Linked DNA regions of Homo sapiens: all the other regions are linked to region 6. The links are contacts of gene promoters, found by promoter capture Hi-C in blood cells and fetal thymus (Javierre and others, 2016). All regions are on one chromosome and are shown on one strand. The core of a region is centred on a gene start or on the middle of the fragment in contact, and the rest is flanking DNA. Distances in the headings are between cores, read along the strand shown.

Evidence for each region. The method cuts DNA at HindIII sites, captures the fragments that hold promoters and counts their contacts. A CHiCAGO score of 5 or more calls a contact.
Region 1: a contact is called between a fragment that was not itself captured here and the fragment with the promoter of MPZL1 in region 6, in 2 of 17 cell types (fetal thymus and neutrophils). The highest score is 5.9, in fetal thymus.
Region 2: a contact is called between the fragment with the promoter of GPA33 here and the fragment with the promoter of MPZL1 in region 6, in 2 of 17 cell types (total CD8 T cells and naive CD4 T cells). The highest score is 5.2, in total CD8 T cells.
Region 3: the fragment with the promoter of POGK here is called in contact with the fragment with the promoter of MPZL1 in region 6 in 10 of 17 cell types (total CD4 T cells, non-activated CD4 T cells, fetal thymus and 7 more); the score reaches 17.5 in total CD4 T cells.
Region 4: a fragment that was not itself captured here is called in contact with the fragment with the promoter of MPZL1 in region 6 in 1 of 17 cell types (fetal thymus); the score reaches 6.1 in fetal thymus.
Region 5: a contact is called between a fragment that was not itself captured here and the fragment with the promoter of MPZL1 in region 6, in 1 of 17 cell types (activated CD4 T cells). The highest score is 5.3, in activated CD4 T cells.

Annotation. Positions count from the first base shown.
Region 1 is chr1:167,059,730-167,062,453 of GRCh38, forward strand. All of the region lies in intron 4 of GPA33 (glycoprotein A33), which reads right to left. It overlaps GPA33-AS1 (GPA33 antisense RNA 1), which reads left to right. Exons shown (of 6, transcript XR_922249.3): 3 at 899-1,017. Among named protein-coding and RNA genes, the nearest start is that of GPA33-AS1, 8.4 kb to the left of the region's middle. The HindIII fragment of the contact is 948 bases long and covers 845-1,792 here.
Region 2 is chr1:167,088,956-167,091,655 of GRCh38, forward strand. It overlaps GPA33 (glycoprotein A33), which reads right to left and starts at 1,422. Exons shown (of 7, transcript NM_005814.3): 1 at 1,290-1,422. The coding sequence starts at 1,332. LOC124904451 (a long non-coding RNA gene) reads left to right here. Exons shown (of 3, transcript XR_007066717.1): 2 at 368-456; 3 at 1,831-2,426. RefSeq lists an enhancer at 1,448-1,597. The HindIII fragment of the contact is 4,295 bases long and covers 1-2,191 here.
Region 3 is chr1:166,838,142-166,840,841 of GRCh38, forward strand. POGK (pogo transposable element derived with KRAB domain) reads left to right here and starts at 1,334. Exons shown (of 6, transcript NM_017542.5): 1 at 1,334-1,463. RefSeq lists silencers at 1,090-1,519, 1,620-1,859. The HindIII fragment of the contact is 10,121 bases long and covers 1-2,700 here.
Region 4 is chr1:166,884,577-166,887,320 of GRCh38, forward strand. No RefSeq gene overlaps it. Among named protein-coding and RNA genes, the nearest start is that of TADA1, 9.7 kb to the left of the region's middle. RefSeq lists an enhancer at 1-139. The HindIII fragment of the contact is 5,404 bases long and covers 1-2,744 here.
Region 5 is chr1:166,861,338-166,864,037 of GRCh38, forward strand. TADA1 (transcriptional adaptor 1) reads right to left here. Exons shown (of 8, transcript NM_053053.4): 4 at 2,487-2,584; 5 at 866-1,075. Among named protein-coding and RNA genes, the nearest start is that of TADA1, 14 kb to the right of the region's middle. The HindIII fragment of the contact is 2,149 bases long and covers 363-2,511 here.
Region 6 is chr1:167,720,554-167,723,253 of GRCh38, forward strand. MPZL1 (myelin protein zero like 1) reads left to right here and starts at 1,429. Exons shown (of 6, transcript NM_003953.6): 1 at 1,429-1,689. The coding sequence starts at 1,599. RefSeq lists silencers at 1,069-1,438, 1,829-1,898, 1,929-2,068 and an enhancer at 1,757-2,257. The HindIII fragment of the contact is 2,037 bases long and covers 429-2,465 here.

The DNA.
Region 1 (2,724 bases), core at 69-2,568, 660 kb before region 6:
TCCTCTCATCCTCTTCACAGCTTTTGGGGAATCCCAGTTTTTTTCAAAGGGCAGTACTAAGGGTCCGAGAGGCTGTGAGTGACTCACAGCTCCAAAGTGGAGAAGTCAGGACTTCTTGTTTCCTGATTCTGGATTCCCTGTTCTTTTCACTGCTAGCTTGTTTCCACTGAGGGTTTAGTCAAAGGAATGAATCTCTAATGTTGGAAATTGTCTTCAGATGTAGGAGAGCAGAGGTACCCTCCTCTCCAAATCGTCCATGGTGGACTGAAATGTTTTAAAAGCCAGAAATAATTTGGGCTGACCCACAGAGGAAGAAGAATTAGCAGATTCTCTCTATTTATTTTTTGTTTGTTTGTTTTGTGTTTTTAAGATAAGATCTGGCTCTAGTGCCCAGGCTGCAGTGGCACCATCTTGGCTCACTGCAACCTCTGCCTTCCAGGCCCAAGGATCTTCCCACCTCAGCCTCCCAAGTAGCTGGGACTACAGGCACACACCACCATGCCAGGCTAATTTTTGTATTTTTGGTAGAGACAGGGTTTCACCATGTTGCCCAGGTGGGTCTCGAACTCCTGTACTCAAGCGATCCACCCGCCTCAGCTTCTCAAAGTGCTGGGATTACAGGCATGAGCCACACTGCACCTGGCCAGAATTGGCAGATTCTCCAAGGCTCTGCAAAGCAGAGTGGAAACGAAGGCTTTGAGAACTCTGCCCTCACCCCGCAATGTCTCCAGATGCCAGGGCATGTTGTTATGGACATTAACCATATTCTTTTCTGTCACCTGCAGGTCCCCATTCTGACTCAGCAAATCTTAACTAGAGACAGGATAAAGCTTTCACAAATTAAAGCTTTCACAAATTAAAGAAGCAATTCTCTTTTCACCTCCTTTCCTGTCCTCAGGATTCTCCCTTTTGGATAATGAAAGAACTAAGTTTTGGCTTCTAACAACCAGAAGAGTCTCCCTGTGGAGGCAGGAGAGAACTGCAGCTGGGCTGCCCCTTTGTGAGGCTCCTCAGAAGGTACCCGTGGCTTACAGGGCAAAGACGAACCTCCCTAGCGTAACGCACAGGCTCTTCATGATTTCTCATCACTGTGTTTCTTAACAAGAGTATCTCCCACCATTCCTACACCTACACACGCACCCTACCCCTTAGCCACACCAGACAGTCATGATTCCTTCCTGTTCTCCATGCCAAGCCTCCTCATCCTTGAGGACCCAACTCAAATAACAGCTAATAACACTTAGCATTAAATGAGTGCTTACTGCCTACCAGGCACTAGTCTCAATGCTTCACATCTACTTTTATTTAATCTTCACAACCCTATGAAGTAAACACTAGCATTGTACCCATTTCATAGACATAGAACCTAAGGCACAAAGAAGCTGAGTCACTTGCCAAGGTCATACAGCTAACAAGTGTCCGAGCCAGGAGTCAAGCCCATGGCATGCTCTTAACCACTGTCGACTCCAATACCCACTCCTTGGAGAAACCTTCTTTGATCTTCTTATGCATCTTCTGTGTTACATCACCACTGGGTATAAAGCTATTATAGCATCTGCCACCTGTAACCTTCAGCTTTGGGTCTCCATATACACACTTTGCAGGAAAGAAGATCAGACACTACCAGTGTCCACAGCACACCTACCATGACCATGGCTGGAGTCACTAGACTATTCATAGGCCAGAGAGAGGAGGCCACAGAGCCCCCGGGGAGCTGCCAGGTGGTTTCAACAAAAATTCCAGACACACTCGATAAAAAGTTGCCAACCAGAAATACGTAAACACAACTGGAAGCTTGTTGAAAACCTACATTACATTGACCTATTTTAAGTTAGGTCGAGTGGATTCTACTAACTGTTTTTTTTTTTTTTTTTTTTTTTTTTTGAGACGGAGTCTCGCTCTGTTGCCCAGGCTGCAGGCTGGAGTGCGGTGGCGCGATCTCGGCTCACTGCAAGCTCCGCCTCCCAGGTTCACGCCATTCTCCTACCTCAGCCTCCGGAGTAGCTGGGACTACAGGCGTCCGCCACCACGTCCGGCTAATTTTTTGTATTTTTAGTAGAGACGGGGTTTCACCGTGTTAGCCAGGATGGTCTCGATCTCCTGACCTCGTGATCCGCCTGCCTCAGCCTCCCAAAGTGTCTACTAACTTTTTTAAGAAGTCGATTTGCCCCCAAACGAGTGATAAAGCTCTTCCTGGATTGAGTGCACCCCCAATGTGTGCATCCGTCCGGCTGGGCTTATCCAGGACACCAGATATTCTTCCCCCGGGTCCTCATCCCCACCCCCGGGGCACCTCATCTTCTCAGAAGAGCTGTGTGCCCTGCTGGCTTTGCTTTCCACCTCTGGCCTCCTTTTCCACCTACACTGAACTGAAAGACCTCCCAGAAGCTAAATCGGATGGACACCTTTCAGGCCTTGTCTTTCTTTTTAAAAAATATTTTATTTATTTTATTTTATTTTACTTTATTTTATTTTATTTTACTTTATTTTATTTTATTTTATTTGAGGCAGGGTCTCGCTCTGTCACCAAGGCTGGAGTGCAGTGGTGTGATCATGGCTCACTGCAGCCTCGACCTCCAGAGCTTAAGCAATCCTCCCACCTCAGCCTTCTGAGTAGCTGGGACTAAAGGGTGAGTCCTGCCATGCCCAGCTAATTTTTTAAAAATTTTGTTTGGAGACAGGGGTCTCACAATGTTGCCCAGACTGGTCTTGAACTCCTAGCCT
Region 2 (2,700 bases), core at 172-2,671, 630 kb before region 6:
CATTCCAGACTCCTCACTTCTATGGCACCTGCACAAACTATGTGCTCAGTAAAGAGTTGTTTGGATAAAGGAATGAGCCAACCAGTCCATCTTGGTGGATGATGAGGGGCTTTCTGCCTTCAGTCAGATGAACTTGAGCCAGCCTGAGAGAATGATCTTACCCAGATCTTCCTCCAAACCGTGTGATCCAGCCCTTCCCCAGCAGCAGGCTGCCCTTCCCTCGAGAGCCCCAAGGCCAGGTGTTGAGAGAAAAGCATGTCTAGGGCCTGGGAGAACCAGAATGAGCTGTAGGCCCCGTGGCCCGGGGCTTTCCTGTGTATGCTAAAAAGTGAGCTCTAAACCAGTCTCCTGGTTTCCACTTCCCCAGGCTTGGTGCTCCTGAGTTTCCTGGTATAGCTCTTCTCCTCCCCGTTGCAGCTGGATCCTGGAAGCCCTCAACAGTGTCTGAATTGCAAGGTGATGGCCAAATACACTAAACCAAAGATATTCCTAAACTTTGCCAAACCCTGCGTCTCTCAACTTCCTTCTCTCCATTCTATTTCCTTCCAATGCCCAGCAAAATGGTTGGTACCTTAATGCCAAGACTTTCATTCTAACCCTTAGACACTCCATAGGTCCCCACAGAACACTGTGCTATTAAGCACTTGATGTGGATTCAACCATATACTCATGAATGTCTGATTTTGTTCTGGGAGGTTTCCCTCCCAGAGGGAAATGCTCAGAGTCCCAGAATTTTCAATGACCAGGGTCCCAGAAGTGGCAAGGAGCTTTGGCCTTTGGAAAAGACCCATCTAGTTTGTTGTTTGTTTTTAGGGTTTGAATCTTCTCTTGCTCTGTGAATGATACGGGATAAGTTGCATTGTCTCTTCTGCCTCAGTTTCCTGTCTCTTTCTCTGGTTTTAACACAAACGTTAATATACTAGATAATGAACATATCTAGATCCACACATCCTGGATTTTCTAGGACAACTCCGATTTCAAATACTTTGTCCACATTGTCAAATCCTGTGTCTGATCCTATAATCTAATTTGGGATAAGAAAATATGGTCTTGAGAGTACTTTGAATTCTTCATTTCAGCAGTGGGCTAGAATGTTATTTACTAATATGTAAATAAAAACCATTCTGATTCTGGGCACTGGTCCGGAATGTGTAATTCTGGCCCAGCAGGAACGCAGCTGTGTTGCTGGAGGCCCTTCCTGGGAAGGCTCTGACAGAGCCTCTCCTTCAGCCCTAGGTCCCCATGTCTCACCCACCCCTGGGCACTGGAGAGAAAAGGGGCCTACTCACCTGCACAGAGTGTCCACAACACAGGCCACATCTTCCCCACCATGGTCTTGCTTCTTCTCTGCCCTAAACCTAACCTGTCACTGGCAGCCTCCAGACAGGTCTGAGCTGTCTGGTTAAAGCTACAGCAGCTTCTGGCCTGGCCCAACTGGAGGTCCCTGCAATTTTCCCTCTTCTCACCCACCTCTGCCCAGCCTCAGCTGGATTGGCAGGTGAGCTCCTCAGCTGGATTGGCAGGTGAGCTGGGGCTGGGCTCATGTGTCACCTACTCCAAAGGTCCCAAGAGGAGTCTTCCCTACTTCCCTCAAGTTCCCCTTAAACCAGCCACCTCCCCTGCCTTCTCCCTACTTAACAAGTGTACAAAGTCCTAGACTGCTCACAAAGGGGTAGGCCTCTCTTATAACTGACAGGAAATAAATAATAAAAAGGGAAATGCACTCAGAGGTAGGGTTCCAAGCTAGTAAAAGAAGGGTGTTGCCCATATTTGCTGAAACACTTCAAGACACAATGTGATCTGTTTCTCTACTTCTCTCCTCTTCTACAGCCTCCACCCCACAGTGCGCAAGAGATATAGTCATGAAGAAAACAGGAAGTCTCCCCCTTCAGAGTTTATATTCTGACTGGGAAAGTAGCAAGTTCATAAGTGAAAGAAGATCATCTTGGGGACATGTGACCAACTTGTCTCACTTTTCCTAGGACTGTCCTGGTTTTCAAACCAAAAGGAACCCCCTCAGTCCCAAGCAAATTTGGATGATGGTCACCCTACTGAAAGAATGATCAGTGGTGTGGGACCATAATTCTCCAGGAGCAGTGGCTGTTGCTGGTTTCTTCCATAGATATTTTAGATATATATACACTGTTCTGCAATGATTTATTCATTTTTCATTTAATGAAAGGTTTTAGAAAGCTTTCTGTATCGGTATGTATAGCACCACCACCATCATCTTTTTAAAATGGGGATGATATTTCACTGTATATGAGTGACATGATTTATTTAACCAAACTACTTTTAAGATTGTTTTTCCTCATCTTTCACAACTATGAAAAGATTGCAACCAATATCTATTATGTGTACGATATTTCACACGTGTTGTGATTATACATGTAAGATAAATTCTTAAAAGTAAAATTTCTGACTCACTGAAAGTTATGCATATTTGTAATTTTTATAGATATTGCTAAACTAGCTACCATGAGAATTTTACAGCCTACACTCCTATTAGCAGCATATAAGGATACCTATCTCCCCACACACTCACTAACACAGTTACCAAGTGTTTATGACACAGTTATCAAACTTTCTGCTCATCGCCAATCTAAGTGAACATGATATCCCATGTATATATAATTTACTTTTTAAAATTATTAGTGAAATTTGGCCAGGCGCGGTGGCTCACGCCTGTAATCACAGCAC
Region 3 (2,700 bases), core at 84-2,583, 880 kb before region 6:
TAAGAGCACAGTGCACAGTGACCTCTCCCATGACTGAGAGAAGTAAAATTCACATGTAAGTAGTAGTGGCCACAAAAACTTGGAAAGACAGGTCTTTTCCAACAGATATTCAGGTCTCAGAGACAATCTGAAGAGTTTGACGGACTCTTTCCTTGACCAAAGTTTAATCAGGCTTAAGTCCTCTTCTTCAGCAGGCCTCCACCCTGGTCCCCTGACCACTCACCCCGAACCTTTGGCCTGCCCAGCTCTATTTTAGCAAGAACCCTGCTAAGTTAGGTTAGAGAGAAATCACCACCCTTGATATCTGATCACCCTGGATATCTGATCAAATTTCTCATTCCCCCACCCTTGATATCTGATCGCCCTAGCCTGCCTTCAGCAAGAATCCTGTTAAGTGGGTTCAGCAAGAATCCCTCTAGGTGCTTGATGTCTCGTATCAGTAACTTTCCATCTACTGACCCCTTCGTTCTGCTCCTTGGCTATACATCCCCAGCTGTCCTTACTGTATTCCGTGTTAGACCTCATCTCTCCCCCCAGTGTGATCATCTTTACACCTATAGCAATAACCCTGTATAAAGTCTTCCTTACTGTTTTAACAAGTGTCAGAATAATTTTTTCTTCAACAAGTTCTCAACAAAAACCCATACCCAGAATCTTTTTCTGGAATGAAAAGGGCTTCAGGGCTTCTCAGGTCACTTTTGTTGTATTGCCCACAGAGCTGAGAGTAAACAACTCCTTTGGACGTTTTGGAGAAGAAAGGTCCTTCTATACACCCACTTCATCCAAGGAATTACATGCTTGGGATATTAAGCAACAGCTACAAAAATCAGGAAGTTCCTTCTCCATGTATATGACGAAGTTCTGGACAGGAGCCCGCTGCCAGAATACGAATACTCTTCCCCAAAGACCCCTCCTCATGCCCCTACACGCTCTTGCCGGTCTAGCCTTTCATTGCCTGAAGCACGGCGAGAACGCCTGGAGAGCTCGTCCAAGCAAGTGCAACCCGCTGGTGACTGCAAATGAGCACATGGAACTGTGCGCCCACGCTACGCTCGGTTAAAATCAATCTGGGCTCTTCCTGCCTCGTCCACGCCGAGGTCACACGCAGCACTGGAAGCGGCCTGCATCGGGCGGGGCGGGGAAGGCCGAGGGCACGGCTACCCAGGCCCGCCAGGGACTGCCCGGACCGGCCGGAAGCCGCGCCTAGAGGAGGGCCCCGGAGCTCGCGCGGGCGCCGTCCCCCGGCGCCGCCGAGGCCTGCTGACATCAGCCGCGCTCCTCCCCTCGCCTCCCAACACCCTCAGCTCCGGGCCGGACCCTCCCTCCTCCCACCACGTGTCCTCCCCGCTCCCTCCCGAGGGGCCGCGCGCACGGGAGGACGGAGAGGCGGAAAGGATGGCGCTGTGACAGCCGGGCCGGAGCCCTCGCGTCCCCACCCCGCGCCCTGGCCGCTGGGCCCGGCGGTGAGTGCGCGCGGGCGGGGGCGGCGGCGGCGCGGCCCCTCCCCCGGGTCCCGGGCGGCTGGGCCGCGGCAGAGGCGGGGGCGCCGAGGCTGCGCCGCCGCCGCCGCCGCCTTTGTTGCGGGCCCGCCGGGGAGGCGGGCGGCGCCGGCTCTCGCCGCCCGGCAGGTGCGCTGGGGCCGGGAGGGGGCCAGGTGGGGAGGCGGGCCGGGCGGAGGGGGCAGCGGAAGCGCTCCCGGCGCGGTTCCGCGGAGAAAGGGAAATGGGGCAAGATGGCTGGAGAAATCCGAACGCGCCCGGGGGCGCGGCGGCGGTGGCGCAGGCGGGGCAGGGCGGGCGGCGGCCCTGGTTGCGGCACCTTAGCGCGGGGAGGCGGCCCCTCCCACCTCTGCCCCGGAGCCGGCAGGGAGACCGCCGCCAAGTTCGGGCCCCAGCTGCAGGCATCTGAAGCCTAGACCCATCCATGCCGCGTTCGCCTATCTTTTTTGGAAATATCGAAGGAACCGACTTTGAACTCCAGAGGGATCTTTTCTTTGGAGGTTCCCCGATGCAGCCCTCAAGATGCATCCGCACTCCACACCTAGGAATTGCCCGCGCCCATAGAGGGCAGGAGTGCGGCCCTTTGTACTGGCCAAGAGTCAGCGAATAGAGAATTTGCAGCCCAGAGGCAATGGGTTATTTCCCTGTCGGGGTGGGCCCCAGCCGATTTCTGCACCTTTTTGGGTATCCAGGCATAACCCTCACTATGTTTCACTGACTCCTGCGTTTGCAAAGTCCCTTAAGGTAGAATGACCCTATTTTCTGAACCAGCTCGTGGACAGAACCTTTGAATTTGGAAAATCCAGGCAATGGGCCTACTGAGCCAACCGCTCCGCCCATGCTTAACTGGCTTCTAGCACCCATTCCAGTTGAGTAAGTGTCCAATCTGTGTTCAGACACCTTCACTGATAGGAAATCAGCACCTTTCCCCTGCCTCTGATTCCTGTTTGGGTGGCACTGGCTGTGAGAAAGTACTGCCTTTCTCACTGCTTAAAACCTTTTCCAGGAGTATTTATCCACTGGCCGGCCTCTGTTCTGCCGTCCAGTCTCTACAAACCAGTCTGGGTTCTCTTCCCCAGATAGCTTTTTAAATATTTGAAGGCAGCCAGATACGTTATCTACCCACAGCCTCTCTTATCATAATTAAACATGTCACCCTGTAGCTTCCTGGCCGACTCTTGTTTCCTTACTTCCCTCCAGC
Region 4 (2,744 bases), core at 131-2,630, 840 kb before region 6:
GGATGATACCCTTGGCCACCGGCAGCAGGTCTCTGGTGGCCACCTGACGCTTGAGCATTTCTTCTGCGGACCCTGGGAAGTCCTACCCCTTGGACTCATAAAATATCTTGGTTGTCCAAAGGTGCCACTTTCAGACCCTCCAATAACGGCAGGGATAGACTCAAAATCATTGACATATTACAGGCAGGGTTGTTACCTACAGGAAGAAATTGACGAATTGTCACATTTGGGGACAACCTGGGAGCTGCGGACCAAAGGGGCCTGACAGCAGTTGAGTGTAAAGGCAGGGCATACAGAGGCCACCTGTAGAGTTTACCCTCTCCCCCACCCTACCACCCACCTTGGGTCCTGAGTGAGGAAGAGAGTAGAGTGCAACCCATTGTGAGCTCTTTCTCATCAGGCTCTAGGAAATAACAACAGCTGATATGTACGAACTCCCTGCTACGAAGTGGGTCTACTACATTACCTCCTTTAGCCCAAACCATAATCCAGTGAGGTTTGAATTGCTGCTATCCCCAGGCCATAAGTGAGGGAACTGAGACTCAGGAAAGTTCAGTTGCTCTAGGTTACACAGGAAGTGGCAGAGTTAAGACTGGAACCTAGATCTCACTGACACCAGAGTCCATTTTGCCACAATAACCACAAAAATATGTTAACTCCAGTGAGCACTTAATATCTGCCAAGCATTGTACTGAATATGTTTTTTGGCGATGATTTAAAATCCTTGCCACAACCCCCCACAAGGTAGGTACTACTATTGTTACTCCCATTTTACAGGGAGATAAACTAAATCATAGAGAGTTAAGAAAATTGCCCACAGTTACACATCTAGTAGAACTGGACATAAGCCCAGTAAGCCCCATTCCAGAACTCATACTCTAGCTACCATGTTCTACTGCTTACTCTAGTGTGAGTGCCCCTGTCCATTTCTTCCTAAAGATTTCATCTGAGACAAGCTGGAATGGTCTGAAAACTCCCTGATGCCCTCCAACCAATGTAGCTGATGCCATCCTTTCAACCATCCACATTCTACTACACCTCCCTGCAGCTCCATGATTTCTGCACACTGTGGGGATGGAGCTCACGCATGCCCTGCACCCACATTTTGAGAGACTCCCCCTCTACAGGCTGCACTGTCCTCACTAGATGCACATCAGATAGGTAAGAGATTTAGGCAGAATAATCTTTTTTGTTTTCTTTTTCTTCCTCTCCCTCCTTCCCCTCCTCCTCCTTCTCCTCTTGATCTGTCACCTGGTTAATTTTATTTTTTATAGAGATGGATTTTTTTTTTGGAGACAGGATCTTGCTCTGTTGCCCAGCCTGGAGTACAATGGCACAATCATGGCTCACTGCAGCCCTCGATCTCCTGGGCTCAAGTGATCCTCTCACCTCAGCCTCCCAAGCCGCTGGGACTACAGGTGTGTACCACCATGCCCAGTTCTTTTTTTTTCTTTTGTAGAGATGAGGGGACTTTCTGTGTTGCCCAGGGTAGTCTTGAACTGCTAGGCTCAAGCAGTTGGCCAATCTCAGCCTCCTAAAGCGCTGGGATTACAGGTGTAAGCCACTGTACCCAGTCCTGTCTTTTTTAATTACAAATATATGACACCTGAGTTTATTGCTTTCCCCAAGTTACCAATTGTTTTGTAGAGTACAAACCTAGAAAATAGTATCTGAATGGTTGACCCCAGTTCAAGAAGATGAGGCAGGTCTCACCCACATGAAACTAGGACTACTGCAATTTCCATATGTTATTTAAAATGGACTTTGTGGAACTGTACCTTTATGGTAGATCCTAACCCAGCTGGCTTTGCTCTGTTTCCTAGTAGGATTTGCGGGGCTTGCAACTTCAAACAAAAAATTCCAGAAGTGTGCCCTTTGCTACTTCTGCATTATTAGAATCTGTTGGAAGCCTGTGATGTTCCATTTGCCTGTGAAGAGGGTGACAGCTGGTGTAAACCAGGGTCATGAAATTTGGCTGCTTCCATGGCAGTGATTTCAACCTGAGGGATGACTACCCAATACAAAATAGTAATGGCGGTCACTGCTAGATATAACGGACTCCTGGGTAGCCTCAAACCTCAAAGTACTTGTATTGCTTTAGGCCTGCATGGCAGGTTTTTGCAGAATGCCAATAATAGGAGCCTCAACCTTTTCCACTATATGCAGAAAAGAGGACAATGGAAAGAAGGAACTGTCTGTGTATGTTCTAATGCCAAGCAGAGCCAGCTTCTCAACAGATAATAATGATGTTAGGAGACATTTATGAAACACTTAACATGTCCACACAAATTAATGTCTAGTCTATTCCAACAATTTCCATGTTAGGTAGGGGATACTGTGGAACCAACCAGGCCAGGGCAATGGAATCCATTCCATCTGGTTGCTATGGAGAGCCCAAGGGGGACTACAGAAAACATGCAGTGTCTGCCCATCATTTCTGGAGCCAGATATAACCAAAGGAGATTACTGGAATTTGCTTGCTTGAACAGATTATTTCTACTTAATTCACCCTACAATAGCTTTCATAAGAGCAATGGTTCTCAACTTCGGTGTTAGAATCACTTGGGAGAATTTTTAGAAATTCCATGCTCTGGCCGTTCCCCAGAACGATTAAACTAGAATGTCTGGGGAATGGAATCCAGGTATCACTATTTTTCAAAGCCCTCCAGAGATTCTAATGCGCAACCATTCCTCATAGTTTTCCCCCTAAACCTTATTTAATAAGCAATAGGGCACCTATGTGA
Region 5 (2,700 bases), core at 187-2,686, 860 kb before region 6:
TAATGTTTATAACTTCATGGGACAACTGTTATTATTTTTGAAGTACAGATGAAGAAAATAGGGCTCAGAGAATTGAAAATCCAATGTCACCTGACCATACTCGTGCATTATAGACCCCATCAAATTAGTTTTGTCAAGTAACTAAATGAATAAAATGAATGGACAAATGAAATCATGAGCAGAGACAAGAATTCTGCTGTTCAGATGCCAAGACTAATACTCTTCAGTGCTGTATCACAGCAAAAACAAGTGACTTTAATCTATAGGATTCTCAATTTCATTTCTTTCCTTAAAAACCATTCCCCTGTTGACAAAACATCAGATCAACCAGAAGAGTTATGCCATAAATAACCTTTCTGAAAAGCTTAGTCTATTAACTGAAGACAACTATTTGGATTATAATGAGTTTCTCCTCTTAAAAGAAAACAACTTTTAGCCAGGTGCTATGGCTCACACATGTAAATCCCAGCACCTTGGGAGGCCAAGGCGGGAAGATCACTTGAGCCCATGAATTCGAGACCAGTTAGGCAAGAGAGAGAGACCCCCATCCCTAAAAAATTTTTTTTTTTTAAATTAGCTGAGTATGGTGGCGCACGTCTATACTCCCAGCTCTTGAGAGGCTGAGGCAGGAGGATCGCTTGAGCCCAGGATTTCCAGGTTGCAGTGAGCCATGATCGTGCCACTGCACTCCAGCCTGGGAGACAAAGTGATGCTGTCTCAAAAAAAACAGAAAACAACTTCAACAATGACAATTCTGTGAAATCAGAGTGACATTTGGATTCTTTTCTTGCAATACCGACTTTAAACAACACACAAGCCTATCACATTCAACCTGTAAGATTATTTCTGCCAACAGCAAACCAACCTCCACAGCATAGACAACAGCTGAAACAGCCTCCTCGGTGACATTGTCCAGCCCATGCTCATAAGCAGTCACTATCATTCTCCCTTCAAGCTGGCCTCGAGTGGGAAGCATCATTGTGTGGGAACAAAGTTTCAAGTCGTCATCATCTTGGGGATCCTTTGCCACAAATTGCTGGGCTCCTGAGAGAGGATTTTGAGGCTGGAATCTATGCTATGAGTAAGAAAAACTTTTTAAAATTACTCATTACAGTAGCAAACAAGACACAAAGTAAACTCCTGTACTGAAGTTGAGATCCTCCAAATTAATGCCACCAAAACTATACCACAGGGGTTAAGGGAAAAAAGAGTTAATTCATGCACAAATAATCACAGATTCACATCCAATACAAGGTAATAATGAAGACATGGATTAAGGGGAATAATGGTAGTTTGCGTAGTAGTTTATTCTATTCAATTAATACCTTGGTGATCACAGAATGTATGGCACTGTGTTAAAAATAACTGAAAGAGAAGGAGAAGTATTGAACTATATTCAAACAAATCAGAGCATTTTAAATCTAACCGTAAGTAGGTTCTAAAAGTATAAACATATAATGAATGATTCAATTAAATCTTAAAAAGCCTAGCTAACCAATATGGCAGATCTAGTAACAAATATTCCAAGATAATGCTATGTAGAGTAACTACTTAATTGCTGTTATTTTCTACTTAGAATTCTCAACACAGAACCTAAGATACAGTCATGACTATTTTTCTCAGTCTTTTTCATTCATAAAATCTCAGCCTTCCTCAGGGAGATTCTGATAGCCCATTCATGTTCTCCATCACCACCTGGAGTTATGCCCCAGTACCTTTTGCTTAAGGCTAATATAAAAGATTTTGTAGTGAAGATGGTTTGTCCCTGTTTGAAATTGATATTATGAAAACAACATGGTTATTTTTCCATTTTCCAAGTATAAAACTACTTTATATTGAACATCTCTTTTTAAATCAGACATGTCTCTCTAGAGATCCCAATGGCCTCTACATTCTTACTGATATAAAGCATATAGTCAAGGTGAAAATAAATAATTGTTTATTGATGTTAATCAATAAAGCTATCAATACCCCATAAACCTATAAAAGGGTTACTTCGGGGAAGTTTTTTTCCCTAAATATACACTGAAAAAAGCAATTTGTTTTAAAATGCTTACAAATTTTATAGCCAAATGCCTTCATGACATCTCTACTAGTCCTCAAAAGGCTCAGGGCCCAGCTGGACATCACCAGGACCCCATTAAAGGCCTCCAGGCTGCCTGAGCCCTTGAGACAGATGTCTTCATCCAAGAAACATTATTCATTCAAGAAAAATACTTAACAGGAGAGACAAAAGCATTGTTTTGAATAACTGAAAAATCATTAGGTACTAATGATAACATTACTATTTAAGCAGTAACAAACAAGAACTATAAAAATTCAGACACCTAGAACTCACAATCCTTGAAACGCTTTTCTTCCCAAATCATACTCCTTTTTTTCAACTCTACTACCAGTATTTTAATATTCATTTAAAAACTAAAGCTAGTCCCAACATGCCACTACTTCAATCAGTCATTATCAAGACCTATTAAAGAACAACCTACATCAAATTTCTGACGAACAGAAGAAAGCTTTTTCTTTCCCTTGGGTTTTCCAGGTTTTGCTGCGGAACCCCCTGGCCAAGGCAAAGATCCAGCACCATCTAGGAGACAGAAATATATAACCATAAGTAAAAATAATGACAACTGATAACTGCTAAGTTTGTTTTCATTTGGGGTAAAAAGCATGGAATGCTCATGAAATGCAAATAACTAATGA
Region 6 (2,700 bases), core at 179-2,678:
CCTCGGCCTCCCGAAGTGCTGGGATTACAAGTGTGAGCCACCGCACCCGGCCCTCATTTTTACAAATGTAATTGAGTACTTGTTTGTGTACACTAGTAGACGATGTGCTTCTTGAGAGTAAAGCCCAGGTGTTCTACATCCATGGTTCAATTAATGCATTGGTATCTTTTCCAACCTATGGCATTTGAGATACAACTTCAAAAGGATCTGCTGACAGAAATAGGGCAAAGTGGTTCTGGTATTTTTTTTTTTTAAGTTTTTTTCTCACTAATGTTCTTATGATTTCGCTGTACTGCAATGTTAGCTGAAACAGCACAGATATCAGGAATGGCATTGTTAAGACTGACCTTAGACAAAAACCCTGAAGTGAGAGGTTACATTTTGGGTTCTCACCATACTCTTCCCCCGCTCTTGTCCTAATTGTCTAAAGCTTGCTTCCCTTCCTCATCGTATCAGCCTCCCACCTGAATCTTCCCTTTTCCTCCTTCACACTCATCTTTCTTGTGCCCCTGTCCCCCATTTTTCCCTTTTGTAAGCCATTTTCATAAGGATCCTTCCAAATATTTCCCCTATTGATTGGACAACCCGTAGGTGGCAGACTGTTCTGGGCCAAGGCAACCAAGTTGAGCAGGGCCAGCAATCAGTGTCGGGAACTTCTGCAGGGCACTTCAGAATCAGTGTTGGGAACTTCTGCTTTCTATTTTTCACGGACACAGACAGGAACACAGATATGCGAAAGCAAAACAATCAAAAAGCATTTTCATTTGTTTTTCAGGTAGTAGGAAAGAGTTCCAGATTCCCATCCTTCTGAAGCCAGGAGGGAGGTTCCTAAGAGGAGGTTAGGGCAAGATGGAGACTTCTTTTTAAACTAGTAGATTTCGCAAATTGCAACACATACATTATCTAGTCCACGCAAAGGACAGGCCTTGGGGACACGGCACGGGGAACGTGTTCCACCTGGACGACTGAATCAGAAGTCTCTCCCCCATCAATTGAACGCCTCATTATTTTTCTTTCTGTCTTTTCTTTCTTTTTAAGGTAAATGAATTGCTTCTTTTTCGTTAGGTGAGGCCGGCAGAGAACAAGAAGAGCTGAAACGGAGGCGAGGTTAGTACCCAGCAAAGACCTGTGGCGAGGAGAGACAATGAAGAGGACCACGGGACTGGACCCTGAGAAAGGCAGAGGAGACGCTGGCTGGTGGGGCCCGCAGGCGGACAGCCACGCAGGCAGGCGGAAGGCTCGGCTCGGCCTGGGACCGCTGCAGACCCGGCCTCCGCGCGGGGCCGAGGCGCCTGGGTGGGACCGAGGAGGCGGGGCCTTCCCGGCGGACGGATGATGGACAGCCTGACTCTCCAATCGCGTCCTTAAAAGGGTGCGGGCAGGCCAATGAGCGGACAGCGAGGGCCGGAGTGGGGCTGAGGCTTCGGTGCAGAGCTGGAGAGCCGCGGCTGGGACCGGAGTGGGGAGCGCGGCGTGGAGGTGCCACCCGGCGCGGGTGGCGGAGAGATCAGAAGCCTCTTCCCCAAGCCGAGCCAACCTCAGCGGGGACCCGGGCTCAGGGACGCGGCGGCGGCGGCGGCGACTGCAGTGGCTGGACGATGGCAGCGTCCGCCGGAGCCGGGGCGGTGATTGCAGCCCCAGACAGCCGGCGCTGGCTGTGGTCGGTGCTGGCGGCGGCGCTTGGGCTCTGTAAGTGATGCCAGGACCAGGGCTGGGGCCGGGGAGTGGGGCCCCCGGGCCCGACACACGCCCATCGCGGCGGTCGCAGGCCAGGCGCGCGCACTGAGAGCCGAGGTGGGGAGGGGGCGCGGCCTGCGCTCTCTGGGGCCGAGGGGACCCAGCCCATGGGGAACGCGGGCCTCCGCGACTGGCCGGGAAGGCGCAGAGCCTCTTTCTTCTCTTTCCTGGATCCTGGAGTGCGGAGGAGGAGGGGAGAGTGCTTTACCTTGCTCCTTCCCGGGGGGCGGTCCAGGGGAGCGGACCCGGCGGGCGGCTGCGGTGAGCCCTCGCGGCGCACCCTGCCCTCTCCTCGTGGTGACTCTGGATCGTCTAGGCCCTCCCGGATTCTGACTCAGGAACTAGGGTTCTGGCGTTCTTCACCTTTGGGAGGTGGCGGAAAGTTGCAGGTTTTTCATTTGTAGGGCCTTTGTTGATTTGTTTCCTGTTAAGCCAGGGTTTTGTTGTAAGTTCCCTTTCCCATGCTCTCATTCAGTTTTAAGTCTCCGTAATAAAAGAGTCTCATTTCCGTGGTCTGCAAAACGCCAATAAAAAAATATTGTTACTTCTAGGTTAGAATGCAAAGAGCTTGGAATACCAGTGAGATGGCCTGGCTTAAAAGAATTTGGTCAAATCCATCATAATTCCAGACGTAGCCACCATAATTTGACAAGACATAGAGCATTAAAAAGCATAATTTTCCTAAAGGAAAAAAAAAGCTCCTTTTTCTTACCAAATATTGTGACTCAAGCTTAAGGTAAACCTCGGGCTCAATTTATGGGAATTGGATGACTTGTTTTATGGACATCTGAAGTGGTATCTGCCACAGGACTTTTCTGTGTTGTTGTTCAAAGCAAAGTACTTGTTGCTGTCTCCGAATTTAGTTAAATAATAGTTATAAAGAGGGCCAGCTGCTAAGAAACCACGTAGATTTTTTTCATTCCCTTTGTTTTCAAAATGTCAGTTATGATTTAGCATCACAGT